2 separate regions of the Homo sapiens genome follow, and region 1 is linked to region 2. The links are contacts of gene promoters, found by promoter capture Hi-C in blood cells and fetal thymus (Javierre and others, 2016). All regions are on one chromosome and are shown on one strand. The core of a region is centred on a gene start or on the middle of the fragment in contact, and the rest is flanking DNA. Distances in the headings are between cores, read along the strand shown. Region 1 overlaps LOC102724020 (a long non-coding RNA gene). Region 2 holds the start of KLRF2 (killer cell lectin like receptor F2).

Region 1 (6,142 bases), core at 2,894-5,393, 140 kb before region 2:
AATACGGAGGATGTTATGCTAAGTGAAACAAGCCAGATACAGAAGGACAAATGCTGCATGATACCATTTATATGAGGAACTTCAAATAACCAAACTCATAGAAGCAGATAGTAGAATGGTGGTTGCCAGGGGTTACAGGAGAGGGAAATGAGGAGGTATTAGCCAAAGGGTAGAAAGTTCAGTTACACAAGATGAATAAGTCCTACAGATCTACTGTACAGCGTAGTGCCTATAGACAACAATACTATATTGTATATTTAGAATTTTCTAAGAGTGTAAATCTTACGTTGTGTTTTTATCACACAAAAATATTAACAATAAAGAGGGTGGGAGGACTTTTCAAGATAATGCCTATGTTTATGGTATACATTGTGGTGATGGTTTATTCATGTGTGTATACTTATCTACAAATATTAAGTTGCATATATTACGTATGTACAGCTTTTACATGTCAATTATACCCAATAAAGTGGTTTTTAAAGAAGAAATGTTTATGAATGAGGCAGGCAAGTAGGGATGGCATGCCTAGTGGCTTCAAATCAGTCAACATCAGACCAGCAACAGGGGCTATGGGGGGAGATAGCAATACATAAGGCAAGAAAATTGCTGAGGACGGATTTAATTAGGAAAAGTAATAAAATGTATACTTAAAACAAGATGACACCTGGGGTGGGGTCACCATTTATGGGAAGTGTCATTGCATACCATCTTCTGTGTTCTGATAGCATGCTGAAATCTATTATTTATTATATATAATAAATCTATATTCTGTTGCATTGCATTGTCTCACAGCTATGATTCTGTGAAAAGATAATAGGGCTCTGGCATGTATTGGACCTGGTTCAGAACCTAACTTCACCCTTTCCGGCTGTAAAACCTTAGCCAAGCTTTGTTCTAAATCAAGCTTTAGTTTCCACATGTATGGAATGATCTCAGATGAGATCACATATTGAATTTGTCAAGTTCCTGCCATGTTAGGGCCATCTTAAAAATTGTAGGCCCCTTTGCCCCTAGCTTTGAGCTTATTGTGGTTAAGGGTCCTGTCATGCTGATCTTCATATCTATCCCAAGGGTTTGCATATCGACTAGCACTTGGTTGACACACACACAAAATCTATTGTTAAATAAGTGAATAATTTGCAGCTGCCAGTCGCACCTGTCGAAATATCAGTTGTGCATTTGGTAGACCCAGATAAAGAGAGACCAGAAATCTGGTTTTCAGTCCAATTCACCTTCCTGGGACTCATTTCCCACCCTCCTTGATGCATTTTTTGGCTCTGTAAGTTTTGAGAGGTATTCCTTCCCAACTTGTCCTATTTAGACACAAAAGAGCTTCAAAATAAAGACAGAAACAATCAAATACTGTCTTCTTGCACTGGAAATTGAAGGTCAGTACTTGAAGAACAAGAGAGAATGGAGCCCCCTAGAAATTACTCTACTCAAAATACAACTTACAGATCATATGGGCTGGACAAGATTGGTGAAGCCAACATCAATTCACCCATAGAGAGTAATTTTTCTCAGAAACAAATTCTGTCTAGAAACAAAGAAAGCTGGAGAACTGAAAATAATGGCCTTGGTAACTATAACAGTAACAATTAGTGTTTCCCTACAATTTCCAGTGCTATGCTAAGGAATCAAAAAGGTGAAAGGGTCTGGACCCTATCCTTGTCCACCTCGTTTCTGGCCTCCACATCACAAAGGGCACAGAAGATACAAAAATAGTCCATGGGCAATATAGTGCCTGTCTCAGGTAATTACCTAGGGCTACCTGCCATCTACTATTCACCCTGTTGCTCCCCTCCATGATTTCTCTTCCCTGATGAGCTGATGCTCAGCCGCTGAACCAACTTTCATTATTGTGTTTGTATTTAAAAACTGTTGCCTTTCAGTTACACTGAGATAATTTTCCCAAGGAAAATATCATTGGTGGTGAAAACCAAGCTAAGCACCCAATGCAGGAATGTTCTTGGGACTGGAAGGATCATGCAAATCTGCTCTCTAAGGGGAAGCAGAGGATGGTAAATGTAAGAACAGCTAAACTTAACTGGGTCTTCACTGTACCATGTGGGTTATCTCTCTTTTTGTTTTCTTCACAAAAATCTCAGAGGATGGGCACGAGTTTTGTCACCCTATTATGAAAAGGGTTTACATAATTTAAGAGCCCTGTCTGCTATGGTGTGAATGCTTGTACCCTCCAAAATTCACGTTGTAATTTAATTACCATTATAATAGTTATTAAAGTGTGAAACTTTAAAGAAGTGATTGGCTGGGTGAGGCGGCTCACACCTGTAATCTCAACACTTTGGAAGGCCAAGGCAGGAGGATCACTTGAAGCCAGGAGTTCAAGAGCAGCCTGGTCAACATAGCAAGATCCCATTTCTACAAAAAATTTATTTTTGAAAAATAGTTGAACATGGTGGTGCCCACCTGTGGTACCTACCAGTTCCTCAAAAGACTGAGGCAGGAGGATTAATTGAGCCCAGGAGTTCAAGGTTGCAGTGAACCGTGATCGCACCACTGCAGTCCAGCCTGGGTGACAGAGCAAGACTCTGTCTCTAAATATAAAAACAAACAAAGAGATCATTAAGGGGCACAGCCCTCATGGGTGGAATTAATGCTGTTATAAAAGGATGAGTTCCATCCCCTTTTGCCTCTTGGCCATTCTGCCCTCTGCCACATGAGGATCCCACCTTCCTCCGTTCCCAAGGTTACAGTTGCCTTCTTAAAGAAGAGAATGGCCTCATCAAGCACCAAACCTGCTGGTGCCTTTAACTTACACTTCCCAACTTCTAGAACTGTGAGCCAAGAAATAGATAGAATACTCAGTCTAAGGCATTCTGTTATAGCAGCGCAAAACAGACTGAGACATTGTCTAAAATATACAGCACTTACATTGAGAATAAAAACATAACCCATGGCTGTCTGATTTAAAAAATTTATTGTCTTAAGCACCAAGCTGTACTGCTTCCTAATAAGGGGTTGGGATACTTCCGCCTGCTTGAAAGCTGTGACATATTTTGAAAGAACTGAGAGGAGATGTGTTTTATTATATTTATATTATTATATACCCTCAAAAAGAGAGAGAGAAAGAGAAAGAGAGAGAGAAAGGAAGGAAAGAATGAAGGAAGAAAGGAGGAAGGGAGGGAGGGAGGCAGGGAAAGGAAGGAAGGAAGGAAAGAAAGAAGGAAGGAAGTTTAGGAAGTCAGACAGACAGGTGTATTACTTGTAGTTACTTGTTCAGTAAAACTAATATACCTGTGGAATAAAAAATTATATTTGCTTGAGGACCACATTGTTAATTTTGGCCACCTATTTATAATCTGACTCTTGATTTCAGTCCTCAGCTTCACAGTGGATTCTCATTCCAAAAGTGTATCATTTCCCCTTCTTCCCAATTTGACTCCATCATACCTACCCTGAGGAAAACAATGTTACTAATGTGTCTAAATCCTTCTCCAGGTGCATACAAATGTATACAAGTATGATTATATATGCTTGTATGCAGCCTCGAATATACCATCAATCCTAGTTTCAGGTAATCATCATTATTGTCCCTGTCTCAACCATGTGTAATCATCACCAATGGAGCTAGTTCACCCGTTTTCTTAATATATAATGGAGGGTTGGCTATTTTACTGAAAATAGGGGCCATTGGGCCAACCTCAGTACAAGGATTTTCAACCTTAGCTTCAGATTGGAATCATGTAGGAAATTTAAATTTTTTTAATAGCCCAGCTACACTTCTCATCAATGAAATCAGCATCTTAAGAGGTGGGACAATCTTAGGCATCAGTATTTCCTCAAAGCTCCCCAGTATAATTTCAGTGTGCAGCAAAATTGAGAACTATTTTCAGAGAGCTAAACAGATCAAACTTCATATCACTTGTCCATCCCAACCATGCCAATTAATACCCTCAGTAAGGGCTTGTTGGCTAAGATTACAACAGTGAAATAGTTGAGAACTGTCACTATATCTGTCCCAATTCTGATCTGTCCTGACCTAACGTGGTCTGCACAAACCAAACCAAATTTGCTAACGTTGCAGAAAGAGCCATCCAGTTTGAAGATGGTTCCAGCACCTTCGCCTCTGGGCCTATTTGCTCAGGGAGTTAGTATTGAGGTTATTTATCCAAACATTGCCACTCAGGCTGTGTTAATAAAAATCACCTGTGTAGTTTGAGAAACTTACAGATTCTCCATTTCTGTCTTCCAATCATTCTGATTTTATAGATCTGACGCGTGGCCCAAATATCTGTGCCTTTAAGGGACTATCCATGTAAATCTGATGTGAAGCCATGTTTGGAACCCATGTTAAATTCTCACATTGCTATAAAGAAATACTCAAGACTGGGTAATTTATAAAGAAAAAAGTTTAATTGGCTCACAGTTCTTCAGGCGGTACAGGAAGAATGATGCTGGAAACTGCTGGGCTTCTGGGGAGGCCTCAGGAAACTTACAGTCATGGTGGAAGATGAAGGAGGGGTGGGTACTTCACACGGCTGGAGCAGGAGCAGGAGAGAGGGTGTGGGGTGGGGTTGGTGGGGATGCTACACACTTTTAAACAACCGGATCTTGCGAGAACTCGCTATCATGAGAACAGCACCAAGAAGATGGTGCTAAGTCATTCATGAGAAATCTGCTCCCATAACCCAATCACCTCCCACCAGGCCCCACAACCAGCATTGGGGATTACATCTTGACATGTGATTTGGTAAGGACACAGATCCAAACCATATCAATGGTCTTTCCCCTAAAAATATACCATTTGTATATACCTGTATATATAAATAAAATATCTCAGGGATTTTGACTGGAGAGGGTGTAGGGGCAGTAGGAGAGGAAGAAAGAAAGAAAAAGAAAGAGATGAAAATTTCTGGAATCAAGTCCTGTCTCATAAGCTAAGTTATCAGAATCAAAGGATGAAGTATTCTGACACAAAGGGCTAGTGAATCTTGAGAACTCTGGATTTATGCATCTACTGTAGAGGTCGTCAGGGATAATATGATGATAGCAGGGCAGCAGGGAGGGAGCTCTTAGTAATAGGAGCTGATCAAGATCCAGAGCACTGTAAGGTCAGAAACAGAAATTTTCTTTTAATGAGTATAAAAGAGTTTACATGAAATGAGAATTAAAATATACAAGATACCAGAAAAAAAAACCTGTAACTTCTTAATAGGAACAAAATAACCAACTAAGGTATTTTAATTATTAAAAGTAGATTTTTTTAATTAGAAATAGAGGAATGAAAGAACTTATTTTTCTCATGGGAATAAAACGAAACCCAAATGTGTGAGAGTCAGAGGCACAGATTTTGACCTTTAAGAAATAATTTTATCTTTGTGAGAATGCCAGGGGCAAACTGCTAAAGAGAAATGGAAGAATCAAGTTTCTTCTTTAATCCATGTGTATATAACTTATGTTTGAATCCCGTATAAGAACTAAGAAACACTGTTTACTTGAACTATGATAATTGTCTGTATTTAAAAAGTTGTGCTTAAATATATTGTTTGTAATTTTTACTAAATTTTCACACTTGACATTTTTCCTTTGTTCTAGAGTTTCTGTTGGTGCCTATATAAAACATTGATTAGTTGATAATTTTAAATATTTAGAGAATAAGAAGCTACTAGATGGTATGTATGAAGTGGTAGTTTCAAAGGACTGTCAAAGTATTGAAATGCATCTAACTTTGAATTTAGATTATATCAATTTTCCAGTAAATTCTAGATTTCTGATCTAGCAAAATCAGTATCAAAGGCTAATTTATCATTATTTTCTTCCTATATATAGCTATGGAACTATGTGAAGATAAATGGAAAACTACATCCTTTACCAGTACTCTGAAATCAGCAATTTTGTTCCAGGAAAAATCTTGAACCCTAGATTTACAATATTTAGCATCTAGTGTGCAGGAACACTGACAAACTGTGATTCAGGAAAGGTCTAAATAATTAAAGATAATGGTTCTTCTATTTTGATGTCTTCAAACAGTTTATTAGGACTTTTCTGAGGGAAACAAAATATCAATTGTAAGAGAATATATTTTTATAATAATACCCAGATTACAAAATCAATAACATCAATATTACTAATTTAAATAAATGACAAACACATAAATATTGGCCAGGGGCAGTGGCTC
Region 2 (5,419 bases), core at 2,357-4,856:
GGAATGAAGGATCAACATTTATCTTCTGAAAATGTTCAAATAAATAAAAATTTACTACTCACGCCAGAACTTCAGGTCAATCCCTGTCATAATGAATATAAGGATCACAATGCATCCAAATATGAGCAGAAGACAATAATATTGTGGATATAGGGAGAAATCTGAAATGTTGAATTTTAGAATTCTTGTGATTATTCACTTTATAAATATTTTTCTGTTTCATTTTTATTACAGAGACAACTCATGTTCATTTTAGATATGTCATTAGAATTTATGATTAAATGAAAATCTAAAAATAAAAAGTCTAGAATCCCAAACCAAGGAGATACTACTATTATTAAACGTTTTGGATTGTACTGACATAGACTTGTTAATTATTTGGTGGTGTTTTTGAGGACCTAAAAATGATGTCTTAAATTCCATATAAATTATACATACAAATACATATTATATATGATATAAATATTTGTTATAACATATTATATAAAATATAAATATATACAATGTAAACATATATATTATTCTATACATGTAAATTATATAGAAAGAATAATATATAAAATGTATATATCTATGTCAGGCACAATTACGTGTGTTATTCAATTTAGTGACTCACTGCTAAGAAATAAAAGAGGGAAAGAAATATTTATTAAAATTCTATTATATACCAGTCACTGTACTGGAAATATCCACATTTTATTTCACCTTACACCTGTAATATATTATATTTTTCTGGGTTTGACTCTTTAGACAGGAGTCAGTTTCAGCTTAGGTAGTATTAGATCTCCAATTAATGATGCTTATATGACATCTATGCTATAGTATTTCATCGCATTAGAGTTGGCAAGAATAGCTTCCTTATAAAGGAATAAACAAGTAATCTCTAGAGAGGTTAAACAGGGGCATGTATAATAATCCTCTTTCAATTTTATCTACTTTTTTCCACATATTAGCACTTTTGAATAAATTGGATGTATACACTTTTTTCACAAAACTATGACAGGTTCCTTTTATATGCAGACATCATATAATTAATATCTCAATCTACAATCATTTTAGTCAGTTTGCCAGGCTAGTGGCCAAAGAGAAAGCAAAGTAATTTGAGATACTCTGATAATTATTCCCTATTTTTTATTCTTTTATCTATAAACAAACATTTAATTTCATCACCTTGGTTGTACATTTCACAAATAATTTGTCTTCTAAGTCATAATAAAAGTGCTGTTTCTCAAATCTAATTTCTGTGTGGATGCTTTACTTCAATAGGTTTTATGGATTTACTGCATTTGATTAGATCTATAGTATATACTTAGAGAATTTACTGTATGTAGTGTACCTTTTGAAATTTGCTACTCAATTGTCTGTATTACTAAGTCCAAAATAATTTTCTTTCTTTTTCTTCCCTGTAGATATTTCTGCTGTTCAAGCAAATATGGAAAGACTTCTACTTAATTGAAAATCGTCAAAATACATTTCTGCAATTTTATGAGAAAATATCAATCAAGGGTATATGGATCTGTAGTTAACAAGTGCTCTTTCCATACATGCCAGGGAGGGAGACTTTAAACTTCTTGCCAAATAAGATTTATAAAAAACTGAACAATAGACCAAAAATTAATATTTTCATGTAAGCCATGATTTACATACTATATCAAGCCAGGTGAACAGAGAGCTGAGTACATGAAGTGCAGTATGCTGGCCTATCCTAGCACTGCTTGGCTAGATGCCATTGGCTTACACAGGGCTATATGAAGAAATTGTCTTACAAAATCTGCTGGTGCTACTATTGCAAGAACACTAATTGTATTATTTTATGTGCTTCATGAGAACTCAGGAAAATATTTTTTCTGATTTAGGATCAAGATTAATTATATCAATCTTAAGGAATAGGTGTAACTTTATCTTATACACAATGTGAACTGAACAACTGGTAAGAATTCCCTTAGGTCAGTAATAACAAGGAAGCTTGGAAGCAAATGTATAGCAAGCACAAACATGCCTACAGTAATTTTTCTGGCCCAATTTATTTTCCCAGCCCTATCCTTCCTTCATTCATAATTTAAATGGATATTATCTTATATTTTATGTATCAATACTCAGATTTTAAGTCTCTGTACACATTTGTATATTAAAAAGTAGTTTATAGATTAAAAAATAGTAAATTTAGTTTAACATCCACATAAAAGCATCATCAGGTAGATTTTTCTTATTATATATCAAAGTATTGAGATTTAAGAAGGCTAAAAGCTTCTGCCCAGAGCCATACATTTAGTCTGTGGGCTTTAGGGTCTGAATAATTTTTTTTGTTTTTTTATATATGGAGTCTTGCTCTGTCACTCAGGCTGGAGTGCAGTGGCATGATCTCAGCTGACTGCAACCTCCGTCTCCCGGGTTCAAGCGATTCTCCTGCCTCAGCCTCCCAAGTAGTTGGGATTACAGGCACACGCCACCATACCCAGCTAATTTTTTTTGTATTTTTAGTAGAGACGGGGTTTCACCATGTTGGCCAGGCTGGTCTCGAATTCCTGACCTCAGGTGACCCGCCCACCTCTGCATCCCAAAGTGCTGGGATTACAGGCATGAGCCACCGTGCCTGGTCTGCCTCAGTCAATTTAACACCAATGGTACTAGTTTTTGCTGCATGGAAGTAAGTTACTATTGAAAAAGTAAACATTTGTTTCATGATATTGAAACACAAAAAAGATCTGAGTCTTCAGATAATAACAAAAGTGTCATTTTGTGGGGGCAGGGGGTGCAGGGGAAGTTTGCATTTGCTAGATATAAAATGAGATTGTACACGAGAATGTTCAATACATATGGCAGAACTGCCACTGCGACTGGTAATTCTGAATTTCTGGCCTATGTCATCTTAACTTAGGTCTTGGCTATTTCAACAAGATTGTTTTCAAAATTCCTGAAAAAGCAAACAAAGCCAACCACAGAGCAGCCCTAAGGAGCAAAGATTAATGTTTTTTTGTTTTTTTTTCTCTCTTCTCGCATTCCCAGTAGATTGTTCTACCAATCCTATAGGGCTTTTACGAAGATTAAAAATATTATATATGTATAAGCATAAATATATATATAAGCATATATATACGCTTTAAGTTTATATAAACTTTAAGTTTTGTAGGAGGAAGTTTCTGTAAAAACACAATTTTTCAGCCTTTTCTTCGAAAGTGATGTTCTTATGCTACAACACACAGGATTACACATCGTCATATTCGCATTTCTCTTACCTCATGGCTCTGAAAATGCAGACTTTTTATTGTTGATGCTTTCATGAATCTAAATAATCTAACAGACAATTTATGACCATTTTTATATTCCTTATTATGATCAATGTTAAGATGTTAAAAATATTCTAAGATAATTCTCTTCCTAGAAGAATAATGAAATTTTAAATGCGGTGATGGGGAGCAGTATTCCTACCTTTAGATTTCTGCTTCGATTTACAACGATTCTTGAAACTCAGCGTCATATACCCATCTTCATTCTCCATCTCTTCAAATGTCTAATGTCTTATTATCCAGAAAATAGTACAAAGAAAATGGAAACTAATCTCAACCTTGGATATGTCTCTTTGGCACAAGGTACTAAAAGAAAACTAAAAGGAAGGCCAAAAATAGTCAAAATTTACTCAGACACAGATGTCTAAAACCACACAGGATGTGTTGGTAAATGAAAATGGATATAAGCTTGTTAATATCTGGCTACAATTCTGTGAATTTCAAGGTAAAGGTAGCTAGTGTGTTCCACTGTTTTCAACAAATGGACTTGTGTGTTCCTGCCACTTGTGTGCGGTGTATTAGAAACATAATTCCTTCCTTCATGTCTTTTATAATAAAGTAAGAGAAAAAATAAAATAAAACAAATAATCTCTAAACAAACAGAACAAATGTCTAGGTAAATAAAAATTCAAATTAAAAAAGTTAAAATAGCAATTTTGTTATTTGGGACATATTTGACTAGTAGAGTCCAAATAACGATGGTTAGATGGGACAAAAATAGGAAAATAAAAGATCAGCAAGTCTCAAGTTAGTGAAAATCGGAATCACTTGCAAAGAATTTAACTTTTTAAACTTTTTTGTTTGTTTGTTTGTTTTTCAGAAAACGCCAGGCAGATTTTCCTTCAGTAGGTGTGGCAGTTTATTTTGTGTCAACTTGGCTGAGTCACAGAGAGTCCAGATAGTTGATCAGACATCATTCTGCTTATTTCTGTGAGGGTGTTTTTGGATGGGATTCATATTTAAATAGGTGACCTTTGAGTAAGGCAGATTTGCCTCCTCTGTAATGTGACTGGGCCTTATTGAGTCAGTTGGAGCCTTGAATAGAACAAAAAGACTTGTCTTCCCTGAGTGAGAGAGAATTCTCCAGCAATGGCCTTCAGACTATCTGCAGCATTAGCTCCTCCTGATTCTACAGACGGTGGACTTTGCATTTGAATTGAGCCTTCCTAGGTACCCAGTCTGTCCATGCTCATTTGCAGAATTTTGACTTACCAGCCTCCATAATCACATTCCTTATTTTATATATATTTCACTTAACACGCACACACACACACACACACACACACATGCTAATGGTTCTGTTTCTGCTACGTGGCCACTCAATATCAATCCATTGATTTAACACCGAGTGTCTGGGGAAGGTGGCTGACTGTTTCCCACAGCACATGTTGTGTTCACCTGATTATTGAGTCTCCTCCTCAACACTGGATGTCACTTGTGAGTATTTACATGGGAATGAATATTTACACACGCCGCGTCCATTCTGCATGATCTCTATATGTACCTCTTAGCTTCTCATTCATTTTTCTATTTTGTTCTTTTTGAGTTTCCGACAAGTCATCTCACCTATTAGTTTCTGATAAGATGATTTAGATGTATTTCTCTGAGTGCTTATCCTTCCTGTTAGGTTCACAACCAGACATATTGTCCAAACTTCTGTTCAGTGGGAAGACTTACCTTCACTTCTGTCTTTCACAGTCTTCTCCTGAATGGGACTGTAGTGTGGCATCTATTCCAGCTGCCGTATTTTACATAACCACTGATAAACTTATTTTTTTCAACTACTTCAGTGTAAGATCGTACAGAACCCTCTTTTCCATCCCCAACCCGGGTCATAGGTATGGTTGAGGTGGAGATAGCAAAGGAATGCGAACATGTGCCATCGGAGTCTGAGCCATCTGCTCATGCAGTTTACTGTGCTTCTTTGGAACTGTTCAGGCCTTGCCTCCAAAATGGCACAATTATGTTTGTGATAAAATGCTTCTGTGCACTTCTAAACATAGGGTTCATTGGGTCAAAGTGGTCAAGTTGGATCAAGTTAATGGTGGTGAACATATGTCTTATAAAAATATGTAGTAGGTTTACTGCCTACTTTTCACCAGGAACAGTTGGCATGATAGCATCAATGTAAT

Evidence for each region. Contacts are between HindIII fragments. The CHiCAGO score rates a contact against its expected background, and 5 or more counts as called.
Region 1: a contact is called between a fragment that was not itself captured here and the fragment with the promoter of KLRF2 in region 2, in 1 of 17 cell types (neutrophils). The highest score is 5.2, in neutrophils.

The regions. Positions count from the first base shown.
Region 1 is chr12:10,019,440-10,025,581 of GRCh38, reverse strand. All of the region lies in intron 2 of LOC102724020 (a long non-coding RNA gene), which reads left to right. Among named protein-coding and RNA genes, the nearest start is that of CLEC9A, 8.2 kb to the left of the region's middle. The HindIII fragment of the contact is 6,473 bases long and covers 907-6,142 here.
Region 2 is chr12:9,879,676-9,885,094 of GRCh38, reverse strand. KLRF2 (killer cell lectin like receptor F2) reads right to left here and starts at 3,606. Exons shown (of 6, transcript NM_001190765.1): 1 at 3,430-3,606; 2 at 63-161. The coding sequence starts at 3,499. It also overlaps a transcript of CLEC2A not described here. The HindIII fragment of the contact is 1,448 bases long and covers 2,250-3,697 here.